2 separate regions of the Homo sapiens genome follow, and region 1 is linked to region 2. Evidence: promoter capture Hi-C in human tissues and cell types (Jung and others, 2019). All regions are on one chromosome and are shown on one strand. Each heading gives the region's core, a stretch centred on a gene start or on the middle of the fragment in contact. The rest is flanking DNA. Distances are from core to core; before and after follow the strand shown. Region 1 overlaps ZNF217 (zinc finger protein 217). Region 2 holds the start of BCAS1 (brain enriched myelin associated protein 1).

Evidence for each region. Contacts are between HindIII fragments. The study calls those that stand out against the background at their distance.
Region 1: a contact is called between a fragment that was not itself captured here and the fragment with the promoter of BCAS1 in region 2, in 1 of the 25 tissues and cell types used here (hippocampus).

Annotation. Positions count from the first base shown.
Region 1 is chr20:53,583,510-53,591,416 of GRCh38, reverse strand. All of the region lies in intron 1 of ZNF217 (zinc finger protein 217), which reads left to right. Among named protein-coding and RNA genes, the nearest start is that of ZNF217, 6.4 kb to the left of the region's middle. The HindIII fragment of the contact is 3,380 bases long and covers 4,968-7,907 here.
Region 2 is chr20:54,068,025-54,075,216 of GRCh38, reverse strand. BCAS1 (brain enriched myelin associated protein 1) reads left to right here and starts at 4,623. Exons shown (of 13, transcript NM_001366298.2): 1 at 4,623-4,784. It overlaps MIR4756 (microRNA 4756), which reads left to right and starts at 6,732; the gene lies at 6,732-6,809. RefSeq lists an enhancer at 5,030-5,904. The HindIII fragment of the contact is 15,029 bases long and covers 1-7,192 here.

The DNA.
Region 1 (7,907 bases), core at 5,408-7,907, 490 kb after region 2:
AATGATTTGGCGTGATGAGGAAAGCTAGTCCTTTAGAATTGTCTTTATTTGCCTACAGAAGGAGGAAGTAGAGGACAAGATATGACTTTTATTGGTGAAGGACACACACTTTTTTCTTTAGTGTCCCACTCTTTTAATCCTTTTGTCTTCACAACACTTTTCTAACGCTTTGCAGTTTGACCTTTGCTGTTTTTTAGTAACTTGTGAGATCGAAGTTTAGCAGTTGTGTTGGGTTCCTATTCCCTTTCACTTCTTACTCAAAAAAAGGAACTAATACACCACTTAGAAAAAATTTGTAGAAAACTTTTCTCCCCTTTACCCTGAGGAATCTATTTTGGTTAACAGGTCAAAATTTTTTTCCAGGTAGTAGGGGAGGAAGGAGGAGCAGTGAAGGTTTTGACTTTGACTGCCTTTACTTTTTTAAGGTGGGGGTAGATTTGCATTTTTCTTTGTGAGCCTCCATTTTTGGCAGGAAAACTTCAGGGAGGAGTAGGAGCCCCTAATCCCCTTCCAGTGGACTTGTTTTGGAGGAAATCTGAAAATAAGACTTAATCATCAAGTCACTTATAAACTGATGAAATAATTAAGGAATATAATGGCCTGGCAATGACTAAGTCCTTCTATCTCCTCATTGCAGATACATGCTAATCACTTTTTTCTCTCTTAACAACATTTATTATGAAATGGCATGTTTTTGCCACAGCAGGGTAGCCATTTCCCAACCCTGGAGCACTCTTAATTCTGAGATGCCTGATTAGAGCCTCAGGGGTCCCAAAAGATGTGCTGTTTTCCCACTTTATAAAATTACATTCTTTTCTCACAGTTGTCACAAACATGATATTGGTTGATAAGAACTTTGGAGTAGTTTTAATGACTCTTGACTGCCTGAAAGATGCCACTTTAAAAAAGGAGCTACTTTTAGCTGACTCTATTTGAAAGTAAATGATTGGACCCTTTTTATGTTTTATATGAAGCTTTGTTTCCATTTGCTTAAAAAAAAAATTCAAATTGTCCCATCTCCTGTATGCCCATATGGCCTGTATGTTATAGATTTTGAGGTTGCTGGGTATGATTTGTTTTAAATCGTTCCTTCCTAATTTCCCATTTCAGTTTAATCCCTGAGCGGAATGTTTAATGAATGAATTGGGAAGGTGAAGCTGAAGGACTGAGCAATGGCTGTTTTCAAGCCTTAGAATTAGAAAGTAGGAATGAAAAACATGAGACAGTTGCATAAACTGAGTATTCCACTAATAAAATAAATGTAATAAGATTTTAAATCCAGTTACTACAATTGAAATCTAAAAACAGAATAGTTTTTAGATTACTGGGATGTTAAAAAATAAAAACCTGAAAGGTATTTACAGAACAGCTACCAACATGGAATTAAAGGAATCTCAATCTTGTTAAATATTCTAAAGAGGGAAGGGTTTGGTTACAGCATGTAAATTAAACTTGAGACAATGGCGGGCGGGGGGGTCTTGATCCGCACACCTCTTCTCCAGATTCTGCGGGGGGGAGGGGTGTTAAAATTTAAACGCACATGGAAGAAAAAAAAAATGTATTACACAAAGACGGCAGGAAATTTCTTAAATTCGGGTGAAGGAAGCCTGATTATTGAATATCACTTAATGGCCTCATTTTAGAGGCAGTATAAAAACTTTTCTGAAATGCTCATGTTTTTGGAGTAAGGTGAACTGGGTTATTTTTCCCCAACCAGTAATAACAGACAAATTTGCAGTGGTATCTGGGGCAAAGGTTTTTGAATTTAGACCACGAGGAGAGATAGAAATCTGACTTTAAGGAAGTGGAAGAACAGGGACCATTCTTTCCTAAAATCTGCAGCTCACGATGACATGCTCAATTCTTGTACACATCTATCTTCCAGATAAATAGGGGGGAAGCCCCCGCTAGCCAGCTGCCGCCACATATTACCCTTTTATATTTAACGTTGGAATGCTTTCCATTTGAACATTTGTTGACTGACTGTTCTGAACATCTCCATTACTTCCTGTCCAGGGTATCAGCATAATTGAGTTACTGGAAATTTGGGGACAGTTTGGTAATTTTATGATAAAGTTGAGAAATAAAATTACTAAACCTGAAAAGACAGCTGAAGAAGTTGTATGAGAGAGTTAGTTGGATTCCTTACTTAGCCTTTGTTCTTATTAAGCTTTACAAAACTTGTTTCTGACCTCCACATGACTGTACTTCCTATAGAAAAGCTCCCCCAGACTCAGAAGCTAGGTTTTTAACAGACTCGTGTAGTGTTTCTGTATTGGTGTTCCATTATTTTCTGGTGTGTCTGGAAACCTTTGGAATTTAAAATGTAGTTAAGTGGACTGGAAATGTAGACTCTAGACATTTCTTGAATCAGCGTTAGGAGTAATAGTTACTTTTACTTCTACCTCTATCAAATAAGGATAACAAAGCATCTCAGTTATACTGAAGTGTTTTTGTTTCTTTTGTAATCAATATAGAGTTTTTCTTCAGTTTATAAATCTACTGAACAATGATTGTATTACTAATTGAAAGGAGACTTTTCCCCTTGATTTTGAAAGCAAACAGGTGACTGGAAAGAGCCAGATATACAACTTTAGTATGTAGTCAGCAAAAGATAGGATGGGGAGGGGAATATTTAAATCTTGCAGAAGAACGATCTTATGCCTTAAAAGGCATTGCCTAAGCTTGTATTTAACTAGGTTACTTGAATTGTGTTTAATTGAGAGCGCTCATTGGAAGAAGTGGTATGGTGTAGTGGTCTAGTAGTGGGCATAGTTGTGTGTGTGTGTGTATATATATATATATATATATATATATATATAGATAGATGTGTGTATACACACGTTCAGTGTTTTCATTACAGAGAGTTAGTGCAGGTAAAGATAGAACAGTTTATTAACAGTTAATTAATTTGCTGAAATCTTTTTTTTTTGGTGCAGTTAGGCCTGTCAAATTTTTACAGATATTTAAGGTTGTACTGGTTAAGTAGTAGTAATAGGAGAAACGGATAGCAATGCTTAATCTTGCTTAATTAAAGTTTTTAAAAATTCACTTTCCTTATATTATAACTTTTTTTCAGATCAGGATGTTTTTAAAAACCACTTTGCAGATGACAGTATCTGTTAATATTGAAACTAAAACTAGTATGTTATACTTTAAGTTCTTACTAAGATCCCTTAACTGACCTTAACTGATTTAAGATGAATTCAGGCAGTTTCTAGTTAATGACACTCAAATATGCTATATGATTATATTTTTATAGTACTTTGGTCTCTAATCCTATTTAAAATTGGTAATTTATGAACAATTTCAGCAAAATGAAATTATTTCCTTTACAAGCTTCCCAAGTTGAAGAGTTTAGGTTGTAACCTTAAACTTTGAATATTCCAATCTTTTTCTTTCGCTTAACTTGGAAGCATCTTTCCACAGCTAAATTAGGAAAGTTGGGTTGACCATTTAGCCTCATGGGTGTGACCCCTAGTAATTTCCTTGAAACAGTGTTGAAGAATTTAGAGCATTAAAAATAAAAAATAAAAAAACCTGTAGCTTTTTGATTGTTAGTAGATGGCTATGCAGAGTTTTCTCCACTTGTCAGATTAAGAAAAAATACTGTGCGTAAAAGACAGAGGAAAAACTTTCAGAGAAAATGTAAACTTCTAGCCAGGTCTTGGAGATAATTTTGTAGTTTTCAGGGTACAAATGCATTGGCCAGAGAATAGCAATTTAAGTTGAATTTTTTAATAACTCCTTATTTGGACACCTCAGTAACTTGGGAAAAAGTAGCTTTGTTAGCAGTATGACAAATTGTGTATAAATATAATTTTTCTGTGTTTTTGAGGACTTTGAATACCTTATTCAAAGCTGTATTATGGTAGATGCATATTCCATATCAACAATGTAAGATAACCTGTTAATCAGAAGAAACAGAGGCTGTGCTGTTTCTAAAAGTTAACAGTTTGAGTACATCAGGATGTAAAGAAAAATATTCCCAAGTTACAGTAATTGTCAGCAAAGTGGCTGTTGTACCTAGTTAGTTGTACTTAAGCACAGATTACTGTGCTTTTTATTAAGCAGTGTAGAATGTGTCCTATTTGCTGATTTCAAGATCTACAGGTAGTGGTAGAATTCATGGTAGCTTTAGTCACAAATCAGTGTGTAATTAGTGACCTAAAGAACATCACACTTCTATTCCAGCCTTTTCTAGCAATATGGTTCCTACTGGATTTCAAAGATTACGCTCTGGTAAATTTTAAAAGTATCTACTGAAATAATCCCAATAGAAGTTTCTTTCAAAATATGGCTATACTCAATAGCCCACTTGCCTTAGGTGTTAGGGGGTATATGAGTTAAGTTCTGTCGTTTACCTGAGTAAAGATTTTAAAATGTTTTTAAACATTGGAAAACATTTTTGTGAAGTACTTTTCAGTAAGCTTAGCGTGTTCATAACGCTCACTTTCTTGCAAGCTAGAAGCATTTAGATTATAGTGTTGGATTATAATATCCTGCTTTTCTCCTCCAGTTCTTTGTCAAGAAAGACAATTTACTTTATCAGCAGTGCCATCGGTTTACTGCTGCCTTCTGTGTGCAGGAGTGTGGAGAGCTGGAGGCTTCTGGGAAGGCTTGTGTTTGTGCACACACCCCATTCAATTGGAACGGTGATTTGCTGTTAGTAGATTAGAATTTCTATTTTGCTGTATTCTGTTATTAACGTCTTTATTGTTACAACCACTTTAACGATTACTGATGAGCAAATTGGTTTTAAGGGATGTAAACCTGGTTTAAAGTATTATTCATTGTCTTAGAGTTTAAGGAAGTGTTTTGTCTAGTGTGTTAGCAGTTTCTAAGTCAAGAGCTGAAGGCATTTGCTGTCAGAGATAGCCCTAGGATGCCCAGCATTTTTGTTTTGGAGGGTCATAAGGAGAGTGAGTATAAATCCAAATAGTGCAGTTTTTTTTTTGCTTGTGCTGATCAACTTTATGGTGTGATTAAATACGATTTTTTTTATTACGCTCTTGAAATTGTACTCTTGAAGTTGCAGAATGGCAATTAGATGGCAGTCGCTGATAGCCATGTAGAAGTTTTGATGAACATGCAAGTTAATTTTAATTTCTGATCAGTTACGGTTAGTGACTGTGGCCAAACGTGTGTACTGATTCTACACGTGTGCTAATTCCGTGACATTTATTCACCAGCTATGTGTCGAGTGCCTAATCCTGTGTCAGGCACCTTGTTCCAGGCATTGGGGGCAGCAGTGGACAAGGCAACAGTCTCCATCCTGAGGTGTTACTTTTAGAAAAAGACAGTTACAAGCAAACAAACAGGATGGTTTTAGATCTGGACAGAGGTTTTCAGAGGAAGTCATCCTTGAGCTGTCACAATACTTTGGGGGGGTAGGGTGTGCTGGGTAGTCAGGGATGGCACATTTGGGGTGCCTAAGGATTGCTGTGGCCCTGGGAGCCTAGGACAGTTGGTCACAATTGACTATTAGAGTCAGTCTCAGAAGCTTTCCTGGAGAAAGAATTCTGCTGTTTTGCCAGGAGGGTTTCCTTCCCCATCTGACCACACAAGAAGACCCCTTGGCCTAGAATGCCTGCCCTCATCTCCAGGTCTCCCAGGCTGTTCACCCTCCCAGGCAAAGTGGAAGCTTCCTCTGTCCTAAGATCGTTTCCCACTGAACCTCCTTCATTGTCCTTCACCGCAGTGAAATAATCCTACAAGGTCTTGTGTGGAGAGTGATGGTAACTTCTTTAACCCAGATAATTGAGAATTGGAACCAAAACATCTTTCTATTAATAAATATTTTCAGTAACTAAGTTATGCTGTTTCCCTGAGTGGGAAATAACACTCCATCATATTTCTTATTTTTTTGGGCGGAGAGGGGAGACTTGCTCTGTTGCCCAGGCTGGACCAGTGGTGCGATCTTGGCTCACTGCAACCTCCACCTCCTGGGTTCAAGTGATTCCCAAATAGCTGGGATTACAGGTGTGTATTACCATGCCCAGCTAATTTTTGTATTTTTAGCAGATAAGGGGTTTCACCATGTTGGCCAGGCTGGTCTCCAACTCCTGGCCTCATGTGATCCACCCACTTCGGCTTCCCAAAGCATTGGGAGTATAGGTGTGAGCCACTATACCCGTCCTCACATCATATTTCTAATCCCGAGACTGTAGAGCTGGTGTCTCTTTTTCTAAAGGATGTCAGTAGAGAAGTGGAGTTCCCCAAAATTACAGTTTCACGTATTAGTCAAGTTTCTAAAATACAGTAATAATGTTGAGAGCTGACATAGGGACTAACTTAGTTTTTTTTTTTTTTTTTTTTTTTCAAATTCTCACTGAACTTTGATTTTGCTAAATAAGGACATTAAAAAAAAAACCAAAAAACTCCACTATTGCCTATTGCCACTATTTGATTTTTTAAAAAATAAGCGTATTTTAGCATCTAAAAGTAGGAAGGACCTCAAATAAATGAGTCTTTGTTCTTGGCCAGGGAAAACAGCGTTGTCAGAATTTGATAACTGTTTTTCTAGGGTATGTGCTGTTATTCAGTTAAAACCTTGCCTGGGACGCTAGCATTCAGTAAATACTTGTTGAATAAGCAAATGAAACTTAAGCTTCTATGTATAGAAACCTAAGTCACTTCACATTCTGATTAGCAGAGTAATTGAATATTCTTTTCAATGTGTAGCTCTATCCCCAGAACCACAGAATATTGGAACTGTAAAGGCCATCCTATAGTTTAACCAACTGCGTTAAATAGATAATAGAAAGATGTGGTATGTGGCAGTGACAACTTGAAGGTTGTGACTAGAACTCGGGTCTCTGGAGTGTTCTATTATATCACACCAAGCTGGTCACCAGCCCATGTGTTGATCCTCCATTGTGATAGCAACAAAGAAAAGACTTCAGGACATTCTTTCCTTTACCCTAATCCTTGATCTGCAGTCTTATTTAGAAAAGCTTAATGTTAAAGATCTAGTTTATTCAAAACTAAAGATAACAAGGAGTATGAGAATTTCTATTTCGGAGTGTAAAGGAGGAGATGTTTCCTTGGCTTCTCTGAGCCTGCAGGCCTTCCTTGCTCTTTAAGGAAGTAGAGAGAGGGAGGAAAGTAAAGTATGCTTTTGTTTTTTAAGGTTACTTTGCTGGGAGTAGTTTGCATGCCTTTTGGTTTTCTTGGGTGGAATTAACTGACTTAAGTTTTAAGTAGTTGGGACTATTTAAAAACAATGCCTATCCAATGTTTGCCATAAAGGCAGAGGGTATTGGCTTTAGAAGTTAATTCTTCTCCAGGAGTGAAAATTAGCTTCTAAACCAGAAGCAGCAGAGCTAAATAAAGTAATTTTCCACCTGGCCAGTGCATGATGTGAAAGGTAGATTAAAAAAATGAGAGGGCCCATTTTCTGATGAAAGACTAAGCCATGTTGAAACAGCCCTGTTGAGGATTTTATTTTAAATCTATACATTCACAAAGGAGCTTTGTGTATGTCTTTCCCTATTTGTTGTTTGGACTAGGAAGCCCCACCCAGTGCTTGTTGAAGGCAGAAAGTCGTTGAAAGCAAGCTGGGATTTGAACAGTGGATTGAGGTTTCGAATATCCAGTGAACCAAAATATATCAGGGTTCCCCTGGCCAAGATGAGTGACCATTCTGAGGTGTTAAGTATTTCTTGAATGGGGATTTTAGGAAAAGTTTCTGTATTTCTGTGCTCATTTTGTTGACCTCTGTATGTGCAAAATCTCTAAGGGGGTGTTTGGGCACTTAGATTTCTTGGATGCAGATTTGTTTGTATATGAAACAAATTTTAAATTGTTTTGTATACACTGGATTTAAAATAGTTTACTAAAGTGTTTTAATTTTTTCATCTTAATTTTCACAGTTCTTATAGTCTTTAGATTTAGGGAGGCTGTTG
Region 2 (7,192 bases), core at 3,374-5,873:
GTCACTGACAGGCCCTGGGTGCATGACCACACTATAATGGCTGGGTCATGCCTTCCGCTGGTTCAGTGATCAAAAACACAGCCAACATGGCTTAGCATGAGCGAGAAGCCTGGGTGGAGGACGGAATATTTGCAGAGAGGCAGGGGCAGGTCTGAAAGAGGGTCCTGGGGAGATTTCCAATTTCAGTTTTCCAATGACTCTTTTTGATTCAAAAACCAGCTCTATCCAGATTTTCAGGAAAGCAGTTTGATAACAGGAGATGACAGCCACATGTGCTTGTCAATATTTGAAGAGGGGTGGAGATCGTAAAGAGAGAAGATTAAGAGGCAAACCAAGTTGGGAGCATGATGGTGAGCACCACCTGAAGTCTGTGTAGCAAGGAGAAACTTTACTCTTAGTGAACTCCCTGCTTTGTCGACACCGGGAAGTAAATTCTTCCACCAAGAAGTTTGCACTTTTGAAGACTTGTTGCTACCTCCACCCAGGGCCCTGAGCTTGGTTTATTGCTCTACAGTTGCCATATTGAAAATCTTAACACAGCTGACCCTTGAACATCACGGGGATTAGGGGCATCAATCCTGTGCAGTTGAAAATACAAGTATAACTTCTGACTTTGCAGAAACTTAACTACTCATAAGCTACTGTTGACCAGAATCCTTACTAATAACATAAACATGTTTTCTATGTTTTATGTATTAACACGTTTTCTATGTTATATGTATTACATTTGTATATTGCATTCTTACAATAAAGTAAGCTAGAGAAAAGAAAATGGTATTAAGAACATTAAAAAGACAACGCATTCTAAGAAACATCATAAGGAAGAGAAAATATATTTACTATTCATTAAGTAGACATGGATCATCATAAAGGTTTTCTTCCTTGTCATCTTCACATTGCATAGGCTGAGGAAGAGGAGGAAGAAGAGGGGTTGGTCCTGTTGTCTCAGGGGTGGCAGAAGAAGGGAAAAAATCCATGTCTAAGTGGACTCATGCAGTTCAAACCCTTGTGGTTCAAGGGTCAGTTGTAGTGTTATCTTTGAACTTGGGTTGAGTAAGTAAAATCTGATGAGACAATGAAGCATAGTCATGAGATACAAGCAATATGCAAGTCTACTGTTCATTGCCACCTATTCACATATAACATCCATGATGCCCATGAGCAGAGAATGCCAGTGAGTTCATGACTATTCAGTAAGCCTCAAAGCAAGTAAAACACATGTGAGTTACAGCTGCAATTGAGTATGTGGAGGCACTGACACCCCAAGAGTCCAGGCTTTCCACGCAAATCAGAAATTATCTTCAATACAGAAAAAAGGCAGCACATTCTAAGAAACACAAACAACAAAAGAATCCTATCCTAGCCTTTCTTACCCAGGTTACCTCCCTGTAAGGGCCAACCACTTGTGCTGAAAATGATAACATAGCAAGACAGAAATATAGGGCAGCTTAGAGTTTCTTTTTCTTTTGATTTTTCCTTATTCATCAATAAACTGAAGATAGAGAGCATTAGTAGAATGGGTGAGTATCCAGAGGTAGAGTAAAAACAGTTGAATGATGACTTCTATGCAGCGTTTACACTGTTTTAGTGAGAACAGACTACGGGGGCCCCGTAACTAACTACAAAATACAAGTCGTATGATTTTGGTGATTCTGCCCTCGAGTTCATTGCATTTCAAACCAGCATGGCTTGATCTAAAGACGGATGGCAAAACTCACGCTGATCACTTACATTTTTATTTTTTCTTCCCTTAGAATGACTTCAAATAATAAGTAAAATACATGACAGGTAGAGAAAGAGACCAGGAAGGAGAGAAAACAGCTTTATGTTTCATACCTTTAACGGTACTTTTCCCTGCTTTTAGAACAAAGGGCTCATCGTTTTTGTTTTGCACTGGGTTCAGCAGATTATGTAGCCGGTCCTGCCTCATCACCACTCCTGACTACACCAGCTGATGCTTGGTGATGGTCTACAGTTTGCCAGACCCTTCATCACCACTCCTGACTACACCAGCTGATGCTTGGTGATGGTCTACAGTTTGCCAGACCCTTCATCACCACTCCTGACTACACCAGCTGATGCTTGGTGATGGTCTACAGTTTGCCAGACCCTTCATCACCACTCCTGACTACACCAGCTGATCCTTGGTAATGATCTACAGTTTGCCAGATCCTTCATCACCACTCCTGACTACACCAGCTGATGCTTGGTGATGGTCTACAGTTTGCCAGACCCTTCATCACCACTCCTGACTACACCAGCTGATCCTTGGTGATGATCTACAGTTTGCCAGATCCTTCATCACCACTCCTGACTACACCAGCTGATGCTTGATGATGGTCTACAGTTTGCCAGACCCTTCATCACCACTCCTGACTACACCAGCTGATCCTTGGTGATGATCTACAGTTTGCCAGATCCTTCATCACCACTCCTGACTACACCAGCTGATCTTTGGTGATGGTCTACAGTTTGCCAGACCCTTCATCACCACTCCTGACTACACCAGCTGATCCTTGGTGATGGTCTACAGTTTGCCAGATCCTTCATCAACACCCTTGACTACACCAGCTGATGCTTGGTGATGGTCTACGTTTTGCCAGACACACTGCTGAGTGCCCCCACCTGAATGATTTTTCTTAATCTCCTAAATCACTCATATCCCTAAACCTTATGTTTTTCTTCTGTAAAATGGGAGCAAAAGATCTTAATTTCACTGTGGACATAAATGAAATGGACGGATAAACACAAAAGGCTTTGCAAAGACTAATGCCATCCAAATGGCAGTTACTGCCATGTATAATTTAAAAGAGAGCAAGACAATGGGGAGTGTTAGCTCACGCCTATAATCCCAGCACTTTGGGAGACTGAGGCGGGTGGATCACTTGAGGTCAGGAGTTCCAGACCAGCCTGGCCAACATGGAGAAACCCCACCTCTACTAAAAATACAAAAATTAGCCAGGCATGGTGGTGCACACCTGTAGTCCCAGCTACTTAGGAGGCTGAGGCAACAGAATTGCTTGAACCTGGGAGGCAGAGGTTGCAGTGAGCCGAGATAACACCACTGCACTCCAGTCTGGATGACAAAGCAAGACTCCGTCTTAAAAAAAAAAAAAAAAAGAATGAACAAGTCCAATCAGCCAGGAGTTGCAGAGTACCTACTCTATCATAGAGGGATCCCCATCCTCGTTTTGCAGGGTGCCAGGAGTTGGGGATACAAGAATAGATGCAAAATAAACACAAAGGAGCACACAGCTGAGGGGGCTGACAGAGACTTAGGGAAGTACAGTAGCTTGCTCATAATTCCACAGCCGATCAGTAAGAATCAAGATCCGAGCCCTTGTCTGTCTCAACCCAGGGCCAGAGCTCAAGCTCCTGAGCCTCCAGGCTTGGGTCAGCACAGAGCGTGTGCATGGCAGCTGCTTAATAATTGGGTTTACTACATTCCAGATTGACATGTACAGTGCTGAGCTGGAATCGACTTTACAACCCTAATTACGGTGTGCCTGGTTGTGTATTCAGCATTTATTTAAATAGTATTTTTTTTCTTAAATGTTGATTTCTGAAAGAGGCCTTCCCCAGCTCTCTCTATTTCTCTCCCTTAGCTGCCTTGGCTTTTCTTTTATAATGAGAATCACACCCTGTAATTCTATGTTTATATTTACAGGATTCTATGTCCAATGACACTGAGTGCAAGAAGGGTAGAGACCCAGCATCTTTTACTCACCTCTTTAAACTCTGGCTTATATATATAGCCTGGTGCTTGACAAGTATTCATGATAGGGGTTAAGCTGAGTATACTGTTGAATAAAACCACAATAATTATTGGTCGCAATTCTCTTGAATGTCTTCTCCAGAGCACTAAGTAGTGTAACTTATCAAGTTTCCTTTCTTGCATTGGCTGTTAGGAAGCTCAAAGCCATATCTGCAAACCCTTCATAGCAAGTCTGTAAATCAACAAGAGCATTTATTTTTGATCCTGTTCTCATTTGATGTTCCAAATTTTGTTCTTCAATCTTCTTTTGTTACATGTTATTTCATGCTCTCATAATCTATTGTATATGTCCTTGTAAGACACTTTAAACAACATCCTTGCTTGAATTAAATAAATTGCATAGCCTGTCGAATTTCTGGCCTGCAAAGAAAAAGAATGCCCTTTCCAACATCATGGTATGTCTCCAGAGCAATAAACCACCCTCAGGTTACCTGATTTCTGGTGTCCAAACCCCTTTGGGAATAAGGTTTACATGACTAGGGGTAGTTGAGTGGATGAGAAGCTATTTCCTTCCAATTAGGTGGTTAGGTGGTGGTGGAGGTGGTGTTCTGAAGTCAGCAGACAGAACTACAAAATCTCACAGAACGTGTTTTCCCTGCTCTGACCATGACCTACGGTTACTGGGGAAGGAAACTGCTTCCCCAGGTCAACCCGGCAGCCTCAGTAGGTGAGGGGCACTGGGTAGAATACTTGGGGTGCCAGGGAGGCATTAATGCGAGAGGAGTCAGGTGCTCAGTTTTTATTGGAGTTGGGAGGGCAGCCCCACATCAGGAAGAGAACCTGTTTCTGCAGGATGGTCCGGGGAGAAGGGAGGACTCCACCCAGGCTTGTGTTTGCCCTGCTCTGTGTATTCAGCCAGCAGGCTCTGCACAAGGAAGCAAAGTGCAGGGAGCCAGGCTCCACCGACAGCCAGGCACTGGGCAGCACGCACTGGAGACCCAGGACCCTGTGCAGGAGCAGCTCCGGGTGACACGAGGGGACTGAAGATACTCCCACAGGGGCTCAGCAGGTAACTGCTTTCAGATCCTTTAGGCATGGCTGGAGGGTTTGCTGTTTGTGGTAGACGGTGTCATATAGAGGCCAGGGGTCAGACAGGGTCAAGTTTGATCCCAGCTCTGCCTTCTGTTCACTGTGTGGCCTTGGATATGTGTAAGCCTCAGTTCCACTATCTGTGAAATGGACCCAAAGATAGCACTCATCTCAAAGTTTTTAGTTTTACAAGGAGCAAATGACAATGTGGTCAGTGTTAGGCGCATAGCCACATAAATAACTCCTATTTGGTGGAACTATTGAGGGTCATTTCAAGCACAGGACATGGGGAGAAGTCACTGGATGGAGGGATAGGCTGTGTGATTTGGGGATCCGTCAGGGCAAGAATGCCCCATAGCCGAGTGGAATCTGAGCCTTCACCTCAGGCATTGCCTAAAGAAGTGGGAGGACAAGAAAAAGGACTTGTGGAGTGCCTTTTGTGAATCTTATTTAACGCTCAAGACCACCCTATGAGGCAGCTGCTGATTCAAATCCTGGCTTCAGGACCCCTGCTGTTTACATCTCCCTCTGAACCAGTTTCCTGCCTGGAAGAGTCATTGCGATTAGAATGCGGGTGCGCTGCAGCCACACCGCCAGATGCCAGCCCCAGCTCCACCCTGGGCTGGCTGGGTGCCCTGGAGCAGGTTCCCTCAGCCCTCTGGGCCTCAGTTTCCTCATCTGTAAAGTGAACCTAATAACAGTACTGAGATCAAAGGGCTGAGAGGACTCTACTGCCCGTAAATACCTGTGCACTTAGTAACTCTTAGCTGTGGTTCTTGTTTTCGCTGTTACCATCGTCTCCATTTTACAACTAGGAACATGAAGCTGGGTGAAGAGGGAGCTGCATCTGGTTCCAGGTCTCATGGAAAGGATGCTGTGGAACTGGAGTCCAGTCGGGCCTGGGATGAGGGTGCAGCCAGTGAGACTCTCACCTTGGGCACGAAATGTAAGGGATGCCAAAAAACTCAGTCATGGAGATAAACGGTATGTTAACACAACATTTTTAAAAGTCAGAATTAATGGCAAGACACCCGTGATGAACAAACTATGAACATGTTACAGAAAGATAAGATCAGGAACAGCGGTAATTTTGATTTTCACAAATTTCATGTTAAAATACTATTCATCTCCATGGCTGAGCTTTTTGGTGTCCCTTACATTGTTCCCCCGGAGTCCAGGGCCTGATCCGCCTCAGCCTCCTGGGGATCCTGAGCTGATCACAGCAGCTTCAGGCCCTGGGTGTATATACTCAGGGTATGTAGAGGGTGCTTCCTCCTAAATAAAGACAACAGACGGGGCGGGGCATGCTAAAGTAGTTTCTCATTTAAGTGAGGGTGGGGGAACAAACCAATGTCCCAAATCACAGAAGATTCTTTTTTTCCAAAGAGTTCTGGAACCCAGAAGGGTTTTGTTTTTAGGAAAAAGGCATGAGCTTTGGGAAAAGCAATGGGCCCGTTAAAGCCCATGGATTCTGCCTGCTTTACCATGACAAGAGATGTGGAGGGAGAGGAATTGAAAAAGGCTTTGGGTTGGGGGCGGGGGTACCTTTGCACCTTGCAGGCTCATCTGTCCTGCTGGAGTATTAGATGTGACTTGATTGTCTCTGTGTCTGCAGCTTCTCTTCAAGCCAAGTGCCCTGCCCTGAAGCAGTTCAGGATTTGAGTGCCTGAGTCACGTGGACCCAGGTTCAAACCCCAGGTGTGCCTCCCCGTAGCTTTCTGACTGCTACTCTTGGGCAAGTAGGACTAGTAAGGTGCCTACCCTCATGGAGGTGACGTTCGTGAGATGAGGGGATGGCATTGCTCAGCCTTGGTTTCTTTATCTGTGCAATCAGGGAATAATGGGACTCTGCAAGGGAAAAGGAGACAATGTGTGTGAAGTGCCTGGCACCAGGGTCAGGGCAAGGGTGAAGCCAGTGAGCACCTGGGGGATAAAATGCAGGGAGGCGCTCACTCTCTGCTGCCGATTCTGCACCAGAGATGGTTGCCTTCCTATATTTTGTGTCCTGCTATGCTCACCCTGGTGCTGCCTGGCACATAGTAAGCCTCCAATTAAAATTACCTGCGATTATCATGCACTTAACAATGTTTGGTGCAATAATAAGACTATGAGAGCGAGCTCTAAGATTTTTAGGATTACCATCCGTTTGTGCAAACATAATTAAGTACTCCGAAAGCAAAACATCAATCACCAAGCAGCCCTAAAACATCCAAGGTGATTTTGATCAAGGCACCCCTGCCCCTGGACCCACAAAGTCCCATACCAGGAATCAGGGCTTGGGCAGTTCAGTGAGGACTGGATTTCAGTTCCCTGTGTCCCCTTGTACAGGAGGCAACCTGTAGCACTGTACCTGGCACTCCTGATAATAGCTGCCGTGTTCCTAGCACT